Regions from separate parts of the Homo sapiens genome. Here regions 2, 3 and 4 are each linked to region 1. The links are contacts of gene promoters, found by promoter capture Hi-C in blood cells and fetal thymus (Javierre and others, 2016). All regions are on one chromosome and are shown on one strand. Each heading gives the region's core, a stretch centred on a gene start or on the middle of the fragment in contact. The rest is flanking DNA. Distances are from core to core; before and after follow the strand shown. Region 1 holds the start of SMARCA2 (SWI/SNF related BAF chromatin remodeling complex subunit ATPase 2). Region 2 overlaps UHRF2 (ubiquitin like with PHD and ring finger domains 2). Region 3 holds the start of RIC1 (RIC1 partner of RAB6A GEF complex). Region 4 holds the start of BRD10 (bromodomain containing 10).

Region 1 (5,613 bases), core at 625-3,124:
GCCCCGCGCTCACCACCATCCGCAGCAAACGGCAACCCGGATAAAAATAATAATGCAATCCAGGCGGCAGAGGCGGAGGCGGAGGCGAGCGATCAGACACTGGCAGGAGGCGATTTCCCCGCGTGTACCGGAAACCGGCCCAAGTGCCCCGGCCAAGGCGCGGGTGTCCGCCGGAGCCCGCACTGCCGCGCCCCGCCCTCCGCCGTGTAACTGCACCCAGGCTGCGAGGCCTGGTGCGGGGCACCGGGAGCACTGTGCTCCGTGTGCGCCCTGCGGCCGGAGGGCGCCGAGGGGCTGGCGCGCCGGACCGGTTATTTAGGGAAGTGCATCGCGACACCTTTGCAGATGGCATGGCCGTGTTTTGCAACGCAAACGGGAGGAAGGGAAGACGGCCGGGTGGAGGGGGAGAGCAAAGGAAGGGGTAAACCAGGTTGGGATGGGAATAAAGCAAACTCCTGAGCAGGGAGCGAGAAGGAAGGAGTGCGTGTCATCGTTGGGAGGAGGCTCCTACCCGGTCTCCCCGCCTCCCGCCCTCGCCACCCCCCTATTCCCTCCCCACCGCAGCCCTTCCCCTTCCCGGGCGAACCACACCGCCGCTGCCCGGTGGTGCGCGGGTCCTGTTTGTGACAGTCAGGCAGACAGGATTATCCGGATCATGGCCTCCCGGGCCCGCAGCCGCCGCCGTGGCTCTCCTGGGTCCCGGCGCGCCCCTAGCACCCGGACGATCGCAGGCGCCCCACGCCCGCAGCTCCCGCGGCGCAAGCAAGGGGAAGACGCGAAGCAAAAGAACACGGACCCGGGGAGAGGGAGGGCAGGGTAACGGAGGCTGGCGGGCACCTCCGACCTCCTTGGGGGCCTCCTCCCTTCCCTCCAGCAGTGCGGCCCGGGCCGGACATCCCGAACTTTAACACCCGAGCCTGCGCTGCCGCCAGGTACCAGAGGCAGGGACGTCCGCAGCGCCCGGGGCGCAGCCCCCTGGCAGCCCCTTTGCCTAAAGGCCTGCCTACCAATCAGCCTCCCCATCCACGCCGGAGGAAACGCGGAAAGTGGAGGTGACACCTCCGATCAGGCACGCACCGGCCCCGCGGCAGTGGCCGCTACCTCCTTCGCGCGTCAGCTCAGGCTTCTCCCGCTGCGATCCGCTCACGTCTCCGCAGCCGGAGCCCTTTGAACAAGTCCCTGGGAAGCGGGTGGCAACAGCGTCCGTTGGCGCCCCGCCGCCAGCCTGGGCTCCCCGCCCTCCTTTCCCGTTCCCCTTCCAACTCTTCCGGGGAGGGTTGCCCGGGATGAACAGTAGCGTTTCCATCCTCCTCCCCTGTCCCCCAGGCCTTCCCCCTCCTGCGGCCACCCCCCTCCCCGCCGCCTCACTTTTAAGGGGATGGGGGGATTGCAACCTGGCCCAATGTGTGTGTTGCAACCTTGAGTTGGCAGCGCCTCTGACTGCCCACTCAGGATCAAGGCTGTGGCTTGTTGGGATTTTTTTCCTCCTTTGCCCCCTTGAAGTAGTAATTATTACTGTTATTATTAGAACAGCAAGGTTCGGTTGAAACTTTCTCGTTTCTTCCACCGCCGCCTGGGAGCTGTCGTTAGAGCATTCCACCTGAGGCCCGCGGGGAGGAGGCGGGCTTTTTTTTGTCGCGGCGGTTGGCCCGCCTGTTTGTTTTGGTCTCCTTGCATGCACAATAAATAATAATTAGGATAATAATGGATAATCCCGGGCGAAGGCGGCGTGGTGCCGGAGGGGTCTGAGCGGCGGCTGCAGCGGGGCGGCCGAAGGGAGGGGAAAGAGGAGAAAAGAGTTGTAAGTTATATTTACCTTGCTCGCGAGGAGTGTGCTGGCTGAATCTCTTCCCTCTCTGAGTCACCCAGAGTACAGAAACAGAGGGAGAGAGGACTAGATTATGAATATGACTTCATTGATGACAGCCGTCCCCTCCTCTTCCTAAACTCGGGCTCCGCCCAGCGTCCCACCCTCGCCTCCTCCGCGGGCGCCGGAAGACGCGCCGCAGTTGGCCCCGCGCGCCGCTCCTCCCTGCCCGTCCGGGCGCGGGTTGGCGGGACGCGCCTGTCACTCGCTCAGCTCAGCGACTCCGGGAGCGCGGGGGGAGGAGGGGGCGGTGTGCAAGAATGTGGATCTAGACAGCTCTACTGTATGCGTGGATCCGTGTGTGACTGCAAGGCGCCGGCTCTCGGGCCGCGTTTGTGCCTGGAGCAGAGAAACTGCGCGGGATGCAGAAAGCCCCAAGCCCTGCTGGAGCTGGGCGCCCGCTGTCCCTTCCCTGGCAGTCCTCTTCCTCGGGCGCCGCGGGGCTCCTCCAGGGAGACTGCGGAAGGGGAGGAGGCGAAGCGAAAACGGAGGGCAGCCGTAGTAATAGCGCGTAGTAGTTCGGGGGTATGTGGAGAAGGTGCTGGAATTTAACTGTGCCTCCGCCTGCCAGTGCGAGCCTGCAGAGAGAGAGGGAGGGGACGGGGGACGGGCTCCGAGTGGCACCAAAGCTGTTTGTGGCACAGTGTGGACTGTGGAAAAAACGGGCATTGTCGTGCCGGCTGAAACTTTTTCTCCCCCTTCCCTAAGGCTGTCATTATAAATCTGCCCCCTATTCCAGGTAAAAAAATAAAAAATAGAAAAGGGAGGCGGGCACAAAGAACGTTCCTGCCAAATCTGTCTCTTCCCTGAAGGACTGCAAGCTTCCAAATGCCAACGAGGGAGAAACAGCTGAGAGGCTGAACGCCTTATAAATAAGTAAACCCACCCTAACCTCTCTGTTTACTTCGTGGACTAGGTACAGCACTATAACCTTCCCTCACCTGCCATCTTCGCTAAAATATATACAAAAATATGGAAAAACAAACCCTGGGGGCGGGGCTGGCGGGTTAGGGGGCGGCTGAAGCATGGAATCTGGTTTTGATTTAAAAAGGGGAATAAATCTCTTATTTTCTACAGACCGTAGTCTCTTCCCTCTCACCCCGCATTTGAGACCAATTAAGGCTGCAAATTGTAATTTGCTGGCAAGTCGCGGTTTTGAGACCTCTTTGCTCCAATTTTCCTTGAAATACAGTACTTTGGCCGGACCAATAGGTCGGTGTTTGGTGAGACAATTTTATTTTTAGTTTTATGAAGTGTGAAAGAATGTTAGGAGACTTTAAATCAGGGGCCTATTATTTTAGACTCAGATTAATGTAGATGCTTGACTCTTAAAACTGTTCCTATGCAGTAGTGTTATGAAAAGTATGATTTATCCCTTATTTCGTAATGTAATGGCTTAAATTAGTCATTCAAAGTGCACTGTGACTATCTGGTTGAGGATTCTTCCCCCTAGAGTAAAATCCTATTTTAAGACCATTTTACTGTTGCAAAATTGACTCCATTTGAGCAACTGGGTCTGAAATGCAGTTCTAGGATGCTTAAAACTTCAGGCTGGATAAGTTGAAGACAAGAAGTAATGGAAAGAACGCCAAATACTGCCATGTAGTCATTAAGAAGCAAGAATTCTTTATATCACTGGTCCACTGCTGGCTGAAGCAGAGCCCACTAGGGCAGCATTTTCATGATGGCTGGGAGTGTTGGTGATCACCCACCCTATAGCTTTCTAAGGTCTTGCTACTTGCTTGTTAACTTTAGCTTCATCATTTTCTGTCTATCTTGAAGTGAACCTCAAGACAACGAAAGATAACACAGCTAAGAGAAATAGAATATAGTGTGCCCTGAAGGATCCATTGTAAGAACTTGTTTTTCTGCCTGAGGATATGCCGGTATAACTATTAACTGAGAAATATATAGGGAGAAATTTTAAACAAGACTAGTAGTATAGTAAAAGTGTAACATAAATACTAACTTCTAACTGCCTAATAAGTCGCAACTAATAATATAGCCAGATAACCTACCTGTCTCTAATAAAGAGATTTAACCTAATAGCAATGCTTATTACATTGAGAGTATTAGGTTTTAATTTTTTTGGGGTCTAATTTGTTTCTCTGGCATGCCGGCCTCACATGCCAATTTTCAGAAATTGATAACTTCACTTTTATTCCCTTGTGAATAAATGCCCTTTATCCCCTTAAGATTCTACTTCCACTTGCCATGCAAATCCTCAAAAAAACAAAAACAAAAACAAATCAATTAGTAAGTCCCTGGAGAAAGAAACTGTCCATTCCTTCTGGCATTTTGTCACAGGGAAAGTAAAGAAGAAAACATTCCCTTTGTTATATGTGTATATTCTTCAGCTCATATAAAATTTTGATGTTGTCCTTGGAGGCGTTGGTATCCACGCATTGTATACACACAGCTATGGGAATTAAAATACATCGTTGGGAACAGAGATTAAATATAGATATTGCATCTCCCTCTCCCTTCGCATTGGTCTAAGAAAGCACCACCTTCCCCCATCACCCTTCAAGTTGTTCCTCTAAAAATTCGTCTTGTTTGTAGTTTGTACCCTAGCAGTTACGAATTTTATAAAATAAGGCCTCAACACAGGAGAAATGAAAAGGCAGCGTCATTCACTTGGTACAAAAAGAAGATTGTAGAACATATAGCATGAGTTTCACCTCTGAGGTAAAACGAAATTTAACAATTGAAGTTAAGGAGGAAAATGATGGGTTTTTTTTGTTTTGTTTTGCAGAAAATCATACAAAAGCAAATGTGGTTGGAGGGTAAAAGGACTCCAGGAGGCTGCACAGGGTGCTACGTTCACACGCAGCTTTTCTTTTTGGACTTTGATGAGTCATAATGTGTTCTCTGAACTTGCTTTTCTCTTTCTAGTTTGGTATCAAAAGATAGAAGTCACTTTTTCATGTCTGTATGGCCACATTCACTTGTTATGTAAGTCTGCTTTGGTTACATTCTGTATAGAGTAGATACTGGGTTTAAAACTTGGTATCTGGATACAACACCCTCATAAAGAAAAATTCCATGCACAACGTTAGGAAGCTTCTAGTCCCAACAGACAAACTGTTAATGCTGCCTGAAATGTTGCCTAGCTTCAAACACGAGCAGGTAAGACCGTTTAGGCAGTGAGTATTTCATCTTCAGTAATGGAAACCAAGATTTGACAAATTGAATCAGCTGACATTTAATTTAAAGAATAGTTTAGAATTAACAAGTAAATTTATTACAGAAATAAACACTCCTCTCTCTCCTTTTTTCTTTTTTTCCTTTTTGAGTCAGAGTCTCGCTCTATTGCCCAGGCTGGAGTGCAGTGGCGGGATCTTGGCTCACTGCAACCGCCGCCTCCCAGGTTCAAGGGATTCTCGAACCTCAGCTTCTCGATTAGCTGGGATTACAGGTGCCCGCCACCATATCCAGCTAATTTTTGTATTTTTTGTAGAGACAGGGTTTCACCATGTTGGCCAGGCTGATCTGGAACTCCTGAACTCAAGTGATCCACCCGCCTCTGCCTCCCAAAGTGCTAGGATTACAGGGGTGAGTCACCACACCCCGCTCTCTCTTTTTTTTCTAATGGGCATGTTCAATAAATTATGTTTTTCACAATCATTCCCCCAAAATACCACCCCCAATTCTCTTTATGATTATATCGTTCTTTAGCTTAAAATCCTTTGTCTATTCCCAATCCATTTTACGGTAAGTTTCAAACTTCTTGGCATGTTATCCTA
Region 2 (5,666 bases), core at 2,605-5,104, 4.4 Mb before region 1:
TGGGCAACAGAGGGAGACTGTCAAAAAAGAAAAAAAAAAAGGTGGCGGGGGAGGCTGGGCTCCGGGCCTCACATCTGTAATCCCAACATTTTGGGAAGTCAAGGTGGGAGGATCACTTGAGCCCAGGAGCTCCAGACCAGTATGGGTAACCCCATCTCTACAAAAAATAAAAATAAATAAATAAATAAAAAAACGTAGCCGGGTGTGATTGTACATGCCTGTGGTCCCAGCTACTCAGGAGGCTGAGGTGGGAGATCACTTTAGCCCAGGAGGTCATGGCTACAGTAAGCCATGATCATGCTATTGCACTCAAGTCTGGGCAACAGAGTGAGACCCTGTCTCAAAATAAACAAATAAATAAATAAATCCCAAAATGTTTCATTGTGGCTGTGACCTTATGACCTACACAGAAAAACTCTAAACTAGATTTAATTTCTCAAGTTTTATGTTTAATCAGTGCTTGAATCAACTTCAAGAAATGTGAATTTTCAAAGTTGTTTTATGACCTTATTTTTCATAAAGACATTAAGTCATCAGCTCAGTGTTTCACTTTTTTAAAAAACACATTAAGTCAAATATGTTATCTTTCTAAAGCATTATCAGTAGGTTTTTATTTTTTAAGTCAAGCAGAAAAAAAAACAAGAAGGGATAATTCTAATTCTTGCTCATGTTACTCCACTTGCCTGAAGTTCTCTAATTCTATCGATCTGCAATTATCAAGTTTTATCAAGAAGTCTTCCAGGAAGAATAGTGAATAAATTATTTGCAACCCACCCATATTTTGGTAAGGGTTATGGGTTGAAATCCTAATCCATGGTACTTGAGAATGTGACCTTATTTGGAAACAGTCTTTTAAAGAGGTAATCAGAAAATAAATTTAACAAAAGAAATGTAAAACCTACTGTTACGAGCTAAGTTGCGTCCCTGCCAAAATTTTTTTGTTAAAGTCCTAACCCCCAGTACCTCAGAATGTGACTTCATTTTGAGATAGGGTCTTTAGAGAGGTAATTAAGTTAAAACAAAGTCATTAGGGCCCTAATCCAATATGGCTAGTGTCCTCATAATAAGGGGACATTTGGAAAGATGCAGCCGGAAGACAATGTGAAGACACAGGAAAAAGGCAGCCATGTGACTGGAGTGATGTACCTAATATAAGCCAAGAAAGAAAATTTCCGGCAAAGTGTAAAGGGTTCTCCCCCTAGAGCTATCAGAGGACGGCCCTGCTGACACCTTGCTAGACCTCTAGAACTGTGAGACAGTAAATTTCTATTGTTTTAAGCCACCCAGGTTTTGGTACATTAGTACAACAGCCCTAGGAAATTAAGTCTCCATTTTGTTTCTTTATAAAGTTCAGTTGGCAATTTCACTATGATACAGTGAAACAAGAAAACTAAACTCCTTTCAGGCCACAACTATCACTTTCCCAGAAACATAATCAATTTTTAAATTGCTCATTTTCTACTCTTCATATGTATTACTTTTCAACATTCACAACTCTAACACAGTAACATCATATTTGAGAAGTCAACCAAATGGAAATAAAAGTATGTCCTGAATTTAAAACTTTTAATCTACTAGATCAGTAATTTGAACTCAGGTGGTCCAAGAACCCAACAAGCACAATCTCAAACACTACAGGTATTCACATTTGTCAAGTAGAACAAGGGATCAAGAATTTCACAAGTTTCCCAGTCAGGGAATTAAATTATGTACTACCTCACAAGTTACCATGCTTACTCTAAATAAGCCAAAGTAGTATTCCAAGTCAGTAAGCAAGTAAGCCCTGATAAGGATAGGGATGGGAATATTGCTTCCTTGATTTAAAAAAAAAAAAAAAAAAAGGAACATCCTCTAGTCTTGAACTCCCGTGGAGGGAAAAAAACCCCAAAAAACTCAAGGAGCAAACACTGCATTCACACCATCATTTTGACATTCTCCAACACCCCCACAAAAAAACCCAAAACAAAATACCTTACTAATTCTGGAGGAGCTGAAAAAGCGTAACATACAACTGACAAACATTATGACTATTTTTAAATGAAAGTGCTTAAAGATAATTAAAAAAAACTAACAGTATAAAACATGCAAATTAACTAGTAGCATATTTCCAAAAATGAAGATAGCAGTTAAAGTGATAAAACTGCTGGAAATTGAAAGAACATTTTTCCACTTAGGTTTGAGGGACCAGAGTCAGAGTGACGTTGAGGGTATTTCTACAGTCAGCTCCTGGTTAGTTTCTACTAAATGACGGTCAGGAGTAAATACAAACTGTTTCAACTGGTGCTTTTTAAAATTTGATTTGACAGGAAAAAATGTCGTAAGAGCACCATGTCTAAGCATATCACGGCATGAGACCCTATAAGTTACATCCACAGTAACATATAACCACCTTTCCTCATGCTTGCTATGACAGGCTTTTTAAACCCAGATTATCCACTCCTTCGCTAATTCATAGGTACTCCTCCAGTCTTCCTACAATAGTGACCATTTATCTACCGCAATAACAAGTTCCACACAACTTTATTCCACAAAGCTTCACATATTATGAAGAGCTGTGAAGTGTTGAGATGATTTACTTGAAAAGTACCGAAGTTCTTCCACATTTAATGAAAGTGAAGATTGAAAGTTATCTCTGACACTCAAATTAAGCTCTAAGTAGGGAAAAAAGGAAGCGGTCATTTAGAAATCACAAACATCTGTGAGTCAGAAGCATGTAACTTAGGTCCATCAATGTCTCAAAAGCAAATGTTTGAGAACTGCCATACTCGAAGATGGAGATGCAGTATTTACAATACTTAAGAAGCAAAAATGGTTAGGATTTTTTGTCAGACCACTCTTGAAATTTTACTGAGTTGAAAGAAGAAACTCCAGGTAACAAGAGGAACTGCAACAATGATGCAAGGGAATACTAGAAAGCAAATGCCAAGTGGAAGTGGCTGAGAGGGCAGTGGGAAGTCATTCCCAAGCAACTACTGACTAGGGATGCCAGTGAAGGGCAAAACAACTTTCACGTATCCATCACATATTATATATGTGTGTATTATATATGTTATATACATCATATATAATATATACATAGATATTCCTTTAAATAGGCAAGTACTTTTATATTCTGTGTGAAAACCAAGTGGGAGAGGCAACTTTTTTCTTCAACTATAGTTCATGCCCCACATTGTTATCTATTTTAAGACCACCTCTATAGTGGTAAGGAGTGAAAGAATGACGAGAGAGAATCCTTTAAAATAGGAAAAGCTCTGGATTCTCAAAAGATTTAGGCCGGGCGCGGTGGCTCACGCCTGTAATCCCAGCACTTTGGGAGGCCGAGGCGGGCGGATCACGAGGTCAGGAGATCGAGACCACGGTGAAACCCCGTCTCTACTAAAAATACAAAAAATCAGCCGGGCGCAGTGGCGGGCGCCTGTAGTCCCAGCTACTCGGGAGGCTGAGGCAGAATGGCGTGAACCCGGAAGGCGGAGCTTGCAGTGAGCGGAGATCGCGCCACAGCACTCCCGCCTGGGCGACAGAACGAGACTCCGTCTCAAAAAAAAAAAAAAAAAAAAAAAAAGATTTAGAGATCCACCAACATAATCTCTTCCTTAAAAAGACCCAATCCCCCGCGTGCCTCAAACTCAACTTCCCAGATAAGAATGTTCACAGCATGTTATCCTACTCTAACCAAAACTTATAGCCCTGAATTGCAGGTCTCCATTTTGACCCTCAAATGTGGAGTCAAGGCTGGGCACGGTAGCTTACGCCTGTAATCCCAGCACTTTGGGAAGCCGAGGTGGGCGCATCACCTGAGGTCCTGTCCTAGATAGAGACCATCGTGTCCAAAATGGTGAAACCTCGTCTCTACTAAAATACAAAAAATTTGCCGGGAGTGGTGGCGCACGCCTGTAGTCCCAGCTACTTGGGAGACTGCGGCAGGGGAATCGCTTGAACCCGGGAGGCAGAGGTTGTAGTAAGCCGAGATCGCGCCACTCCAGCCTGGCGACAGGGCAAGACTCCGGCTTAAAAAAAAAACAAAAACAACAACAAAAAAAGTGGAGTCAATTAACACTGCCTTCTCCAACTTCACCTACATACAGATCACCTGGAGATCTTGTTAAAATACAGATTCTGCTTCAGTAGGTCAGCTTCAGTAGGTCTGGCGTGAGGATTTCAGGTAAAGCTAATGCTGCTGGTCCTGAGAATCCAGGGACCATACTTTGAATAGTAAGAGACTAGTGGGAGACTATCTATCAACATTCATTTTCTAAACTCTGGTGTTATCAGAATCTCCCGTGGGGTCTTGTTAAATTCAACTACTTGCAGTTCTGGGGTGAGCTGAACATCTATAATAAATATCCACAAGCGATTCTGATACATACCAAAGATTAAAAGCTGGAGCCTAACATACGAATGGAGTATGGGGGGCGGGTACCACTTAAATAAAAATAAATGTATTGTCTACAATTTATGACATTTTTCACTACGTGGCAGTAAAGTATTTTGAAGTAGGGGTACCTTTTTCCAATGAGGACATGGTATTTTACAGGACGGGGACTCTCTGTGATGCCATTCCAGTAGTTACCTGCTACAGGCTGGCTACCTCATCTGTGGAGCTCCAGAGACCACGAAAGATAACACTCATTGCCATAGCTACTTGTCAGCGCATAAGAAAGTGAACACACAGCTGGTACCAATGACCTTCCTTTTCTGTTTCCAAGTTAATGGCTGGCACCAAAGGTCTATTCCTCTACCCTACTGGTTTATCACTGGGCTGAAGAAACCCAAGTAGTGAATTACCCACTAGGACCCTGGAAGAGGAAGTACAACGGTTATCCTCAGTTTTCCCTGGAATCTGGAATGAGCTTCCTAGTTTACTGAAAGTCTACTTTGTTGCCTTGAATTTAACCCAATCCCATATGTGATAATTATTTTAGCATATTTGATAATAAAGATTTTAGGAGTGTTGCCCAAGAACATCCTTCATTTCTATCTCTGGTGCTGAAATCACCAGTGTCCTAGGAATTCATGTACTATTTGTCCCCAGCTAGAAAATAAAATGCATCAAACGATTACATGCTTTTTCACTTGTGATCAAAAGGAAACGGTATCAGCCACTTGAGGCACAGCAAAGCAAATCTATGTAGTATTTAACAAGTGTACAATTATTTCAAAAGCAAAGCTTACAACTAAATACCTGTTTTTACAAGTCAAACACTAAGAAGTCAGTACAAAACTGGCTGCAAACACAAATCAAAGGTGCTATAACATTATTTTAAAGAGAGAAGGAAAGGGGAAAAAAAAGCTCTCTCCTTCCCAAAGTGTAATTTGTTACTATGAAATTTCTGGACAGTCTTCGAAGACTAAGCCTGTGAAGGGGAGGAAAATATTCCTTTTAAGTAGTTTGCAACTGTAGGCTACTTCTACCAAATCAAAGAGCTACACTTATTTAAAACCACAGGATTGGAGCCAAACTGTGGTCTATCAACTCAGGATGCCAACTTTTTAGTGTATTAACAACAACATGAAGACAAAGAAAAATACGATGGGTCTGAGTGGCTAGGGATATAGATTGTAAGAGACTTGTGGAATAGGAAAAAAACTTAGACTGGCCAGACCATAAAAATACCAGAGATGCCCACAGACAGCCTTCAAGTATGCACCGCTGGCTATGCTGC
Region 3 (6,118 bases), core at 104-2,603, 3.6 Mb before region 1:
ACCAGTATTTCACGAACACCTAATAAGGACAAGATCACAACCTATCCCCACATGGTCAAATTAACTTGGAAAGGAGAAAAACTTCACTCTGACATCGATTGGTACTGCCTTCTTTGGGGAGGAAAAAAAGCATTTTTATACTCTGAACTCTGTCGTTCTCATAGACAAAGTTATAGCAGTGTTTGCAGAGAGTAGGGAGTATCCCATCCACCACTTATTTCTTTCTCATATCTACTCAGTAATTCAATACAAGAAAGAAAAAGATAACCAGGACTTAAAGCAAAAACAGAATTCAGTTCCATGCTCCTCCCAAGCCTTATTATTTCCAGGTGTTATAACTGGGAGTTCCGCGGACAGATTTGAGTTCTACTTCCGCTCCTTTAACCCCCTATTCCGAAGAGTCCAAGAGCAGCAGCAAAGAAAAAGACCAACTCGAAAGTGGGGAAGGGATGTTGGGGTTAAAGAGGGGAGTTAAATAACCAGACCTTTAGTGAAGAATAAAGAATTCAGGCTGTAGTTTGTAGAAATAAGTTATTACAGGCCTGTAAAGTCTGGCGCTGGGTAAAGCCCAAGAGGCTTTCCCTAACTCCAAAACGGCGACCTTTAAAGTAAGGGAGGGTTGGGGCACCACAGCGGCCGGATTTCTAATTGTGGAAAGTTTAAACAAATTTGTCCCTCGGGGAATGGGGGAAGGGAGAGAAGAACAAGTCTGGGCTCGGCCGGGGAGCGTGCGGAGTCTGCACGCCGCGGCCGTCGGTCCAACGCGGGGAGGCTCAGGGATTTTCGGCAGCAGCGACTTCATCCACCCCGGACCGCCGGCTGGAGGACGTGCCTGCAGCCGGCGGGTACCTGCGGCCAATTCGGTGGAACGAGGACGCGGACTGCGAAGGCAGGTGGGTCTGGCACGAAGGGGCAGGAGTCCTAGGCTCTGGGTGGAAGTTGGGGGTGGGACGGCGCCGGGAGGCCGGGGAGGCAGCGGCGAAAGGCGGCGGGCGGCTCTACTTACTCGGCTGTACCAGATGCTGAGGCGGGCCGCGGCCAGCACGGCGAAGAAAGCCCTCTGCGGGTCGGACTGAACGTGGAAAGGCGCCTCGGCCGGGCTCCCCAGAGGGCACAGCAGCCTCTTGGGCCAGCCGCTCAGAAAATACATGGTCCGTGCGGAGCCCCCGGCGCCCCCAGTTGCGTCCGTCACACTCAGCGGCCCCGGGCTGGTCGCCCACCTCCCACACCGCCACCGGCCGAGTCGGCGGCGGCGGCGGCGGCAGCTCGGGGCATCTGCCCGCTGGCCTGGCCGGGCCGGGCCGACGCAAGGCTGCGCGACGAAGGCACCCCCAAGCTGACGGGGCCGAGTGTGGGGGAGGGAAGGGGAGGGAGAGTAGGGACACAGAGAGGGCGGGAGGAGCGCGGAGGCCCGCCCCGACCCCGCCCCTTCCTCAGGCCGCGCGGGCGTCACCACGCCGCGCCGCGTGGGTCGGGCCGGGGAGGGCCCGCGCGCGCGCTCTGGAGACTCCTGCGGTCTCCCTAGCTGTTTCTTGAAGCTCTGCATAAGCCTCGCCCGCGGCCGCCGGGTTGCGTCCGCACTTCTGCGCGCTGGCCCCTCCCTTGCTCCTCTCCCTAGCAGTCTCCAGGGTTTTACCGGGAGGACCTAGGCAACGGCCTGAGACTCCGAGGCAAGTGGGGCGAGTCTAGGGATAACGCAGCAGCAAGGCTACTGGGCCGGTGGAACACGCCCTGGCCTGGCCAAATTGGACCTCCCTTCCGGATTGGCGGGGTCTCGGTGGGGGCGGGCCGGTTGCCGGGGGGAGCTGGAGTCACGTGACGGCCGGCGCGGTTTCCCACTTTGGGCTGCCGGCCGCTGTGGCTGTGGTGGGCGGTAGGGGCTTTTACCGTGTGAGCTCCTTTAATGCCGGGGTCTGCAGTGAGAGCTGGTGATGAAGCTCCTGCCGGTGTGGAGCTTACATCCCTAAGGGAGCGTTTATTTAATCAGTAAATAAACCACTCACCATGAAAGTATTGAGTTCTGTCTCCTGCCTTTCAGGAGTTCTAAATCTATGTCTTTGAAATCCATTTCCATTCGTCTCAGCCTTACCAGCCATAACTTTAGATGAGAGGAGGCTATCTCTTTCGTGCTGCAAAAGGCTTGGACTTAGTTTTAGAACTGGAAGGGACTGGTGATAGCGTAGGTCCATATTTAGCTTTTGGACCCCAGGTATCACCTTAGCTGTAACTTTCAACGGATTGACCCAGTGGTAACGTCTGAATAGAAGGAGGGTTGAGGGGATATGGTGTGGAATGGGGGAAGGAGGAGTCTGAAATAGAAGAAAGATTTGCTTCTCATTGTCTACCTTTTTTAGTACAGTTTGAATTTTTCCATATGTTTGTATTACTTTTTCAATTAAAAAGCCAGGTTTAAAAAATGACCCCACATTAAAAAGTAGCAACGTAGGCGGGGTGCTGGGGCTCACGCCTGTAATCCCAGCATTTTGGGAGGCCGAGGCGGGCAGATCACTTTAGGTAAGCAGTTCGAGACCAGCCTGGCCAACATCGTGAAACCCCCGTCTTACTGAAAATACAAAAATTAGCTGGGCGTGGTGGCAGGTGCCTGTAATCCCAGTTCCTCAGGAGGCTAAGGCAGGAGAATCGCTTGAACCTGGGAGGCGGAAGTTGCAGCAAACCAAGATCCCTCCACTGCACTCCAGCCTGGGCAACAGAGTGAGACTGTCTCAAAAAAAAAAAAAAAAGTAGCAACATAAACAGAAAAAAGGAAACAAAGAAACTTAATTCATATTAGATATAGCATTGTAGCTGGTATTCATAACCAAATATGTAACTTTCTGTAATTTTTCTAAACATTCACTGCATTCCCTGGAAGGTGATGATAGAATCCTGTATTCCTCAAATGGAGGTTGAAACTGCCTCACCACTCACCAGCCTGTTGCGATCAGATTGTCTCCTTGGCGTCTACCCTCCCCCAGTCCAACACAGCAGCCTGGAACATAGTAAGCATAGTAAGCTGGCAGTATTTGTCAGACAAACCGTGGAGGAAACCCTGATCCAGCTGAGCTACACCATTAGACAAAGAGGCCCAGAGAGGTTTCTTAACTTGCCAATTTCAAATTGTAGAATAACAAAGTTGCATCATACTTTCATCTTAGATTCAGTTATGCACTTGGCAGAAAGAGGAAATGAAAATGTTCTAGTGCAGCAATTTTGCTGGCAGTGTTACTGAATGTTTGTCCCAGCTGTCTCTCAGAGAGTCTTTGTTCTCATGTGTCTCAAGTTTGTCATACTGTGCTCATGGGCAATTTAAGGAACTTCTAAGCAATTTTTATTGCACTCAATTTTAACCTTACTTGCTGACTTTAGAAGCTTATTCCTCTGCCACACTCCTGTGTAGCACTTAAGATTCACAAAATAATTCCAAATGCTTGTCTTGATTTAATTCATAGTAAACATTCAAGGTGAGTGACATTGGTGTGATGTTGTTATTCTCACTTTCTCAAGTGAGGAAACAGGACAGGTGTGGTAGATGTGCCTGAATTCACATGGCCTGAAAAGAACTGATGTTCTTTCTACAGATCCAGTGTGATTTCTTTCTTTTTTTTTTTTTTTGAGGTGGAGTTTCGCTCTTGTTGCCCAGGCTGGCGTGCAATGGTGCCATCTCAGCTCACTGCAGCCTCCACCTCCTGGGTTCAAGCAATTCTCCTGCCTCAGCCTCTGGAGTAGTTGGGATTACAGGCATGCACCAACATGCCTGGCTAATTTTGTATTTTTAGTAGAGACGAGGTTTCTCCATGTTGGTCAGGCTGATCTGGAACTCCCGACCTCAGGTGATCCGCTCACCTCGGCCTCCCAAAGTGCTGGGATTACAGGCGTGAGCCACCGCACCCAGCCTCCTGTGTGATTTTTTTAAAAATTTAAGGTTTGGCTGGGCGCGGTGGCTCATGCCTGTAATCCCAAAACTTTGGGAAGCCAAGGCAGGCGGATCATGAGGTCGGGAGTTTGAGACCAGCCTGGCCAATATGGTGAAACCCTGTCTTTCTGCTAAAAAAAAAAAAATACAAAAATTAGCCAGGCATGGTGATATGCACCTGTCATCCCAGCTACTCTGGAGGATAAGGCAGGAGAATTGCTTGAACCTGGGAGGCAGAGGTTGCGGTGAGCCGAGATCGCTCCACTGCACTCCAGGCTGGGTAACAGAGTGAGACTTTGTCTCAAAAAAAAAAAAAAAAATTAAGGCTTATGGCATCCCTGCATCAAGTAAGTCTATTGTTGCTGTTTTTCCAACAGCATATGCTCTTTAGGCTGAACTAAATTGTGGTAATTGCTCTGGACAGTGAGAGGGAGTGGGGGAAACCTCTAGGTCTTTCTCCCTGGCGGGGAGAAAAGGAAATATCTGACTCTCCAAAACCCTATACTTGAGAGTTCCCCTATTGTGACAAAAATGTTATTGGCTGGATTTTTCAACATCATTTCTTTTTCTTTCTTTCTTTTTTTTTTTTTTTTTGAGACAGAGCATTGCTTTGTCACCCAGGCTGGAGTGCAGTGGTGCAATCTTGGCTCACTGCAACCTCCGCCTCCCGGGTTCAAGTGATTCTTGTGCCTCAGCCTCCTGAGTAGCTGGGACTACAGGCATGCACCACCACGCCTGTCTAGTTTTTGTATTTTTAGTAGAGATGGGGTTTCATCATGTGCCAGGCTAGTCTCCAACTCCTAGCCTCAAATGATCCACCAGCCTCGGCCTCCCAAAGTGCTGGGATAACAGGTGTGAACCGCCGTGCCTGGCTTCAACTTTCAAATATCATATTTTAACTTTATTTTGTAAAATATACTGACAGTTCTCATGCCTTAGGTCTTCTCCTCCTTTTTCTACTAGTTTCCACCACCACTCCTGTCAAAATTTTTGGACTCTGTTCTAAGATTAAGCTTATGATAAAAGTTAGTAGGGGGCCGGGCAGGGTAATCACGCCTGTAATCCCAGCACTTTCGGAGGCAGAGGTGGGCGGATCACTTGAGCCCGGGAGTTTGAGACCAGCCTGGGCAACATGGTGAAACCCTGTCTCTACAAAAAATCAGTCGGCACTGTGGCATACACCTGTGGTCCCAGCCCCTTAGGCGGCTAAGGCAGGAGAATTGCTTGAGCCTGGGAGGCAGAGGTAATAGTGAGCCAAGATCATGCTATTGCACTCCCACCTGAGTGAAAGGAATGAAATCCTGTCTCAAAAAAAAAAAAAAAAGTTACTAGGTGCATGTTTTCATCTATGAAACTTATAAACTTTTTAAATTACTAGAAATAATGTTGGTAAGAGTACACATAAGAAATGGGGATACATTTATACTCTCTTGATGGAAGTATGATTTGGTGCAATTTTTTTTTTTAATATAAGGTTTGTGGTAACCCTGTGTTGAGTGAGTCTATTGGCACCATTTTTTCTAATAGCATATGCTCACTTCATGGCTCTTATCACATTTTGGTAATTCTTTCAATATTTGAAACTTTTTCATTATTAGTATATCTGTTATGATGATTTGTGGTCAGTGGTCTTTGTTGTAACTATTGTAATTGTTTTGGGGTGTCATGTACCACATCCATGTAAGATGGAGAACTTAAGCGATAAATGTTATGTGTGTTCTGACTGTTCCATCAACTGGCAGTTCCTCTGTCTCTCTCCCTTTCTTTGGGCCTCCCTATCCCCTGAGATGCAACAATATTGAAATTAGGCCTGTTAGTAACCCAACAGTAGCCTCTAAGTGTTCAAGTGAAAGAAAGAATCCCCGTCTCTCACTTTAAGTAAAAAGCTAGAAATGATTAAACTAAGTGAGGAAGGCATATTGAAAGCAAAGATAGGCCAAAAGCTAGGCCTCTTGTACCAGTTAGCCAAGTTATGAATGCAAAGGAAAAAAAGTTCTTAAAGGAAAGTAAAAGTACCACTTTGGAGAACATAGGAATGATAAAACAAAACAGCCTTGTTGCTGACCTGGAGAAAGTTTTAATGGTCTGGGTAGGAGATCAAGCAAGCTACAACATTCCCTTAAACCAGACGCAGTGCCTCATGCCTTAATCCCAGCACTGTGGGAGGCTGAGACAGGAGGATTACTTGAGCCTAAGACTTCGAGA
Region 4 (6,100 bases), core at 1,338-3,837, 4.0 Mb before region 1:
AAGTGCTCAATAAATTGTAGCTGTTATTGCTGTTGTTGTTTGTACCTCTATTGTGTCTGGAACTTCTTTTACTTTAGAATTTTCCCAATCCATTCCCTACTCATTCATATTGGCAGGCTATTTAGGCTATTGTTGACAAGAATATAAAGTTGAGATTTTAGATATGCAATTCTGTCCATTCCATGTAATTATTACTAATGGGGGAAAAAGGAAAATTAAGGACATTATGTATAGTATGATCACAATTTTTAGTATATTTAAGATAAATAAAGTATAGAAGAATGAATAGAAAAATCCCACCTCAAAGTATTAATAGAGGTTTTCTCTAGGTGGTAGGATTAAGTGGCAAATTTTCTCCTCACTTACCTATATTTTCTAATTTACCTACATACCTACAACCAACATATTTCTTGTTTTGTTTGTTTGTTTTGAGATGTAGTTTTGCTCTTGTTGCCCAAGCTGGAGTGCAATGGCACGATCTCGGCTCACTGCAACCTCCGCCTCCCAGGTTCAAGCAATTCTGCCTCAGCTTCCCGAGTAGCTGGGATTACAGGTGCGCACCACCACTCCCAGCTAATTTTTTGTATTCTTAGTAGAAACGGGGTTTCACCATGTTAGCCAGGCTGGTCTAGAACTCCTGACCTCAGGTGATCTGTCCACCTCAGCCTCCCAAAGTGCAGGGATTACAGGTGTCAGCCACCGTGCCCAGCCCATATTTCTTGTGTAATAGAGTTTCTTTTTTAAGATCAAGGACCCGATCCTACTTTCATTATAGTTAAGTTGCTATCATCTTGACCTCTTCATAACCTAGAGTTGAGGTTCCTTCTACTCACCCACACCTTTCTCTTTTATATAATCTTAATTAAGAAACCCTTTATCAACATTTCTAGCAATTCCCTACACTTTTATGTATGAGGAATTAGAAATTCTGCCAGATGACTTGGAATTAGGCACCTGGAGTTTTTGAAGTATGACAGACCTAGATTTTAACTTTGTTTAACAACTTTCTTAAACTAAGAGGCAGTTTCCTCATCTGAAAAATAAGGTTAATACCTAGCTGATAGGCTTGTTGTGAGATTAAAGGAGACAATGAATATAAAGTGCTTAGTGGCACAGGGTTCAATAATGTAAGCTAATATTGTCCAAGAGTCATGAAATAGAGCTGATGACTAAAGAGGAGTAGAGGATGTTTGCTTGGGTACGTTGGGCTTCAGATTCCTGGGCTTTGTCGAAAGAAAGGAGGAATGTCTAGTCAGACACACGTTTTGGTTGCCAGGTGCTGAAGTAAGACTGATCCCTGCATTTTTCTTTCTGTGAGCTGAGGTTCTGTGGACTCTTCAGAGTCCACAGACTCTTCTCTGAGGGGAGAGAACCCTGTAAATGCGTTATATATTACAAATGTCTGATGAGAGGAGACCTCGAATACTAGATAAAAGGTATGTGTGGAGGACAGTGTGAATACCCTAACAGAGCGTTCCCGCTTCACTATTTTACTTAAGAGTGATACTTAACTTACTGGACAAAAACAGCTTTGAGGTTAAAAAAAAATTTTATCACTGCTTTAAAGTTCACATTAATGAGAAGTAAACAATTGCAAGAGTCAGAGTATCCTAATCATTTAGTTATACACATTTTACTTTTAAAATGCATGATTTCTGTAATTTTGTTTTTGTGTTTAGGTAATTCTAGGTTTTAACGAGGGTTCTGTGTACCTAGAAAAAATAATATGTGCGTCTTTCAAATAGAACATGAGGAAATAGTAGTATTTGCTTTATGGAACCATGAATTCCTACCTCCCAACTAATTTTAAGTAACATGTAAACCAATGTGAATGATGAGTCCACTTTTTAGTCATTAAACAGTAATTGTAAAATGTAGTGAGATTATCAGCCCATGCAAACAACTGTTTAATGCTGTACAACTCAGACATGAACTATTTTGACTGTTTTCAGTCCCAAGAATTTGTTTAAATGAGGTTCCATTCTCTTTATTCTTAACAGATCTCAAGAATCGGGAGGGTGGAAATTTGTAACTGAAAACATGGAATTAGTTCCAAAATATGAATTGATGTTAAGAGCTGGGGTTCTAAAAATCACTTCCTTTTCTTCTGCATGTGAACGTATGGTCGAGTCCTTAAACTTTCTTTCTAAACTTCTCAAAATTCTGGTTATATATAGAAGACCCGCAGTCACAAGGGAGAAAGGGTGGGAACAGAATGTAAATTTTATAGTAGAGAAGATTTACATTTTGCGCTTTCTCACTATTCATTTGCCATTAACAAAGGTTATCTAGCAACTTTAATTTTAGTTTGGGGGGCTAACACGGGTCTTGCAAAAGAAGTTTCCTCTTGAAGCACTTGCTTTAAAAAAAGCCTTTTGGCCACCTTCCCAGGCGGTAGCGAATTAAGCTGCGCAGGCGCCTTGCTTCCCCCTCCATCAACATGTTCGATTGGCCTACGATTGATTACATCATTGGTCCGCGCAACCCTAGCAGGCTTCTGGGCCTGTAGCTGAGCCGAAGCTCTTCCTTTTGCGTAGCGGGGCGGGGCACGATGGTGGCGGGGGGGGAGGGGGGAATTGTTCTACTACGCATGCGCACCGGGGATGGCGACAGGGCCTCTTTCTTTGCTTCTCTCCACAGCTCTTCCCAGCCGGGGGGCTGAGTGCCCTCCCCCTTCTCTCCCTGCCCCTCCCCTTTCTCCCCCCTCACCGCCCAGCGGGGCTTCTAACTGACAGTTGTCGCCGGGCCCCGTCCGTGCACCGCCTCCTTCTGCCCGTGTCCCCCGCAGGTAGAGGGGGGCGGGAGGGGGTGTGAGGGAGAGGAGGAGCCGGAGCCGCCGCTGCGGCCCCCTCCGGGGAGGGGAGAGGAGAACCCCCTTCCTCCTCGCCCCCTCCCAGCCCCCCGCTGGCCCGGGAGGGGGTGGGGCGCCGAGGCCGCGGCGACCCGGCAGGGCCTGGCCGGTGAAGAGCAGGCGGGCGGGGTGCGGAGGGGTGAGGCCGGCGAGGGCCGTGCGCGCGCCGCCGCCGGGGGGGAGGGGAGAGGAGGGCACCTAGGCTCTCCTCTTCTCTCCCCCCTCCTCGCGCGCCATGTAACCCCGCCCCGCCGGCGGTGAGCTCAAGACCCCCGCGCGCACCGAGCCGAGCCGGCGGCTGAGGAGAGCCAGGCCCGATGTGGCGGGGGCTACGCGCCGCGGCCGAGCCGTGAGGAAGCGGCTCGCGCTCACGCGTCCCCCAGCACCTCGAGCGGCTGTTCCACACCGCCCAGCCTAGGCCTGCCGGGGCATGAGTGTGCCCGGGACGCCGGGAGCGATGGAGCCGGCTGGGGAGGAAGAGCGGCCGCCACCGGCGGCCGAAGGAGAGGACGACGAGGAGGAGGTGGCAGCGGCGGCCCAGACCTCAGGGCCGGCCCACGGAAGGAGTGCCTCCTCGCTGGAGGACGCGGACGATCAGGAGGAAGAGATGGAGGCGATGGTGATCGGAGGCGGTTGCTGCAAGGAGCAGGAGCTGACCTACGAGCTACAGCAGGGCTACCGCATCCTGGGCGAGTTCCTGCAGGAGAAGCACCGGGGCCTCACCGCCCCCTTTCTGCAGCCCTTGGGGGGCGTTGCCACCGCGGAGGAGGAGGTGGCGGAAGGGCCGCGCAGCGGGGGCCGGGGCGGTCGCGCCTTCCCGCAGCAGCCCGGACAGGGCATGTGTCTGCTGCAGATGGAAGAGAAGTTCGCCAGCGGCCAGTACGGGGGCATCACCGAGTTCGTGGCGGACTTCAGGTTGATGCTGGAGACGTGCTACCGCCTGCACGGAGTGGACCACTGGATCTCCAAACAGGGCCAGAAGCTGGAGATGATGCTGGAGCAGAAGTTAGCGCTTCTCTCTCGGTAAGCGAGCCCGGTCCCCGGTGGGACTGACAGACTGACACAAACACACACTCACACGTGCCCGAGGATGGGCTGGGCCAGGGGCCTGGGGGCGGCGCTGATAGGTGCTGAGTCGGTGCTGGAGAAGCCCGGGAGGAGGAGCGGCGCTGGGCGGGGACCGGAGGGGTGTGGTGGGTGTGGGCCGAACCCGGCTTGCGCGTAGACTGAGAAGGAAACCCGAGTCTGCAGCGCTGAAGAGCTGGGTATAGTTTGCAGATGTAAAATGGAATGGGTCCCGTAGGAAGAATTGCACGTGTAGGCAGAGGAACAGTTTTTGTGGGATGGAAGTTGGACCTGCAACTTTTAGACAGTTTTAGCATGACATTTAAAACAGCGTTTAGGATGAAATATCTCTAGAAAAATAATTTTGGCTTATGTAAAAAGGTGTCTTAAACCATTAAAAAATAATTTTATCATTTACTACCCATGTCGGTCATCGAAGATTTATGGAGTGTTACTAAATGGTTAATGGTTACTTTTGCATACTACTGATCTTTTCTCTCCGTTTCATCTGAGGACACCCAATTTTTGCAATAATAGGGAATGCATCAACACACATTTTTTAAAGTTTATACATTTATGTTTATTCTACCAGAAATCATAGGCAAGTCAGATGATACTGTGCTCTTGGTATCCGCCACCCATATATCCAATTATTTAACACAAGAGGAGGATACTAAAATGAATGTATTGTTTTATAATAATTGTATAGTCTGTGTCAGCCAAGTTAATTTCTAAAGTTTAAATTTTTCGGGAGTGGAAAAATTCAATGTTTTTGGTATTGGTAGTTGAAGTGGAATAGTAGTTTGACTGTTTACTATTAGAGTGAATTTAAGTTGAGCAAGTCACTTAACCTTTTTGGCCTCAGTTTCCTCATCTATCAAGCGGGGATAATAATAGTACTTCTCTCATAGAGTTGCTTTGAGGATTTAATGAGTTAATAAATGTGAAATCAACAGTGCTGCTCCCATAGTTAGCCAAGTATAAGTGTTAGCCATTTTAATGTAAGTAGTAGCAGTCGTTGAATAATATGAGTGTATACTTCATATCTGAAACGGCATTATACTTGTGCTCTTACAGAATAGCTCCTAGAAATTGTGTTAATTTTTTGGTTCTTGATTTGTCACTGTAATTTAAAAGTAACCTTTGTCATTGGCTTCCCATATGCCATTTTCAAGACTAACGGTGATTTTTTTCACCAAAAACAGTTAACATAGTGCCTGTCTTCGTTAAGTGAGCTCTCTTTAAGGAACCTCTTCTTGAATCCTTTCATAGAGTAGGATTATTTAGTAATAGAATAATTATTCACATATTTGCTTTGTAAATTACTTTTAATACTTTAGTAATTTTGTATTTCTGTAGTGTGTTTGTTACCCTTGTCTCCACAGTGCATTATTGCTGTGACTCACATAAAAAACAATCCATTCACGTTATTATTTTGAAGTTATGAAGTATCCTCCTGATTGATGTCACAAGATTTTAGACCTGGAAGAACCTTAGAGTTCATCTAATCTATCAGATGTGGGAATAATGATTTAGAATGAGGCAAGAGAATGACTGAATGAAAGTGCTAAGAGATAGCATATGGGTTTGAATTACTGGTGTTTTCAAAAGCTCTGTGTGTAATAAACATTTATTTATTTATTTTATTTTCTCTGAGTCTCCCTCTGTAGCCCAGGCTGGAGTCCAGTGGCGTGATCTCAGCTCACTGCAACCTCCGCCTCCCGGGTTCAAGCGATACTCGTGCCTCAGCGTCCCGAGTAGCTGGGGTTAGTTGTCACCGCGCCCGGCTAATCTTCGTATTTTTGGTAGAGATGGGGTTTCGCCATGTTGGCCAGGCTGGTCTCAAGCTCCTGACCTCAGGTGATCCGCCCGCCTCGGCCTCCCAAAGTGCTGGGATTACAGGCCCTAGCCACCGCGCCCGGCCTATAATAAACATTTCTTAGTCTTAAAAAAGAGCAGACTAAGAAACTACATAAAGGTAAATTTCTAAATGCTTAGAATCATCATTCTCAGTCGTTAATGCTCAGAATACTTATATTCCCATGTGATCTAATAGTATCCATATTTAGAAATTAAACTTACAACATTGTAGTTTATAAAAATAATGTATTTCTGACATTCTTAGGCCAGTAGAGGTAAAATTCTTGCTATTTTAGTAGCAAAAAGTAGTATGACCTCAAATAG

The links. The method cuts DNA at HindIII sites, captures the fragments that hold promoters and counts their contacts. A CHiCAGO score of 5 or more calls a contact.
Region 2: a contact is called between a fragment that was not itself captured here and the fragment with the promoter of SMARCA2 in region 1, in 1 of 17 cell types (non-activated CD4 T cells). The highest score is 6.7, in non-activated CD4 T cells.
Region 3: a contact is called between the fragment with the promoter of RIC1 here and the fragment with the promoter of SMARCA2 in region 1, in 1 of 17 cell types (fetal thymus). The highest score is 5.0, in fetal thymus.
Region 4: a contact is called between the fragment with the promoter of BRD10 here and the fragment with the promoter of SMARCA2 in region 1, in 1 of 17 cell types (neutrophils). The highest score is 8.4, in neutrophils.

Annotation. Positions count from the first base shown.
Region 1 is chr9:2,011,608-2,017,220 of GRCh38, reverse strand. SMARCA2 (SWI/SNF related BAF chromatin remodeling complex subunit ATPase 2) reads right to left here and starts at 1,874. Exons shown (of 34, transcript NM_003070.5): 1 at 1,817-1,874. RefSeq lists silencers at 105-214, 515-684, 1,825-2,164 and enhancers at 872-1,428, 2,215-2,264, 2,325-2,374, 4,585-4,714. The HindIII fragment of the contact is 4,329 bases long and covers 1-2,690 here.
Region 2 is chr9:6,414,435-6,420,100 of GRCh38, reverse strand. All of the region lies in intron 1 of UHRF2 (ubiquitin like with PHD and ring finger domains 2), which reads right to left. Among named protein-coding and RNA genes, the nearest start is that of UHRF2, 4.1 kb to the right of the region's middle. The HindIII fragment of the contact is 2,637 bases long and covers 2,536-5,172 here.
Region 3 is chr9:5,624,342-5,630,459 of GRCh38, reverse strand. It overlaps RIC1 (RIC1 partner of RAB6A GEF complex), which reads right to left and starts at 1,353. Exons shown (of 26, transcript NM_020829.4): 1 at 1,007-1,353. The coding sequence starts at 1,150. INCR1 (interferon stimulated noncoding RNA 1) reads left to right here and starts at 733. Exons shown (of 3, transcript XR_007061406.1): 1 at 733-893. RefSeq lists enhancers at 533-1,033, 2,944-3,163 and a silencer at 1,054-1,593. The HindIII fragment of the contact is 4,913 bases long and covers 1-3,371 here.
Region 4 is chr9:6,004,969-6,011,068 of GRCh38, reverse strand. It overlaps BRD10 (bromodomain containing 10), which reads left to right and starts at 2,587. Exons shown (of 8, transcript NM_001017969.3): 1 at 2,587-3,874. The coding sequence starts at 3,282. It overlaps MIR4665 (microRNA 4665), which reads right to left and starts at 3,243; the gene lies at 3,165-3,243. RANBP6 (RAN binding protein 6) reads left to right here. Exons shown (of 1, transcript NM_012416.4): 1 at 1-44. RefSeq lists silencers at 2,520-3,039, 3,090-3,319, 3,510-3,669, 4,060-4,119 and enhancers at 2,557-3,056, 3,057-3,558, 3,690-3,919. The HindIII fragment of the contact is 10,771 bases long and covers 1-6,100 here.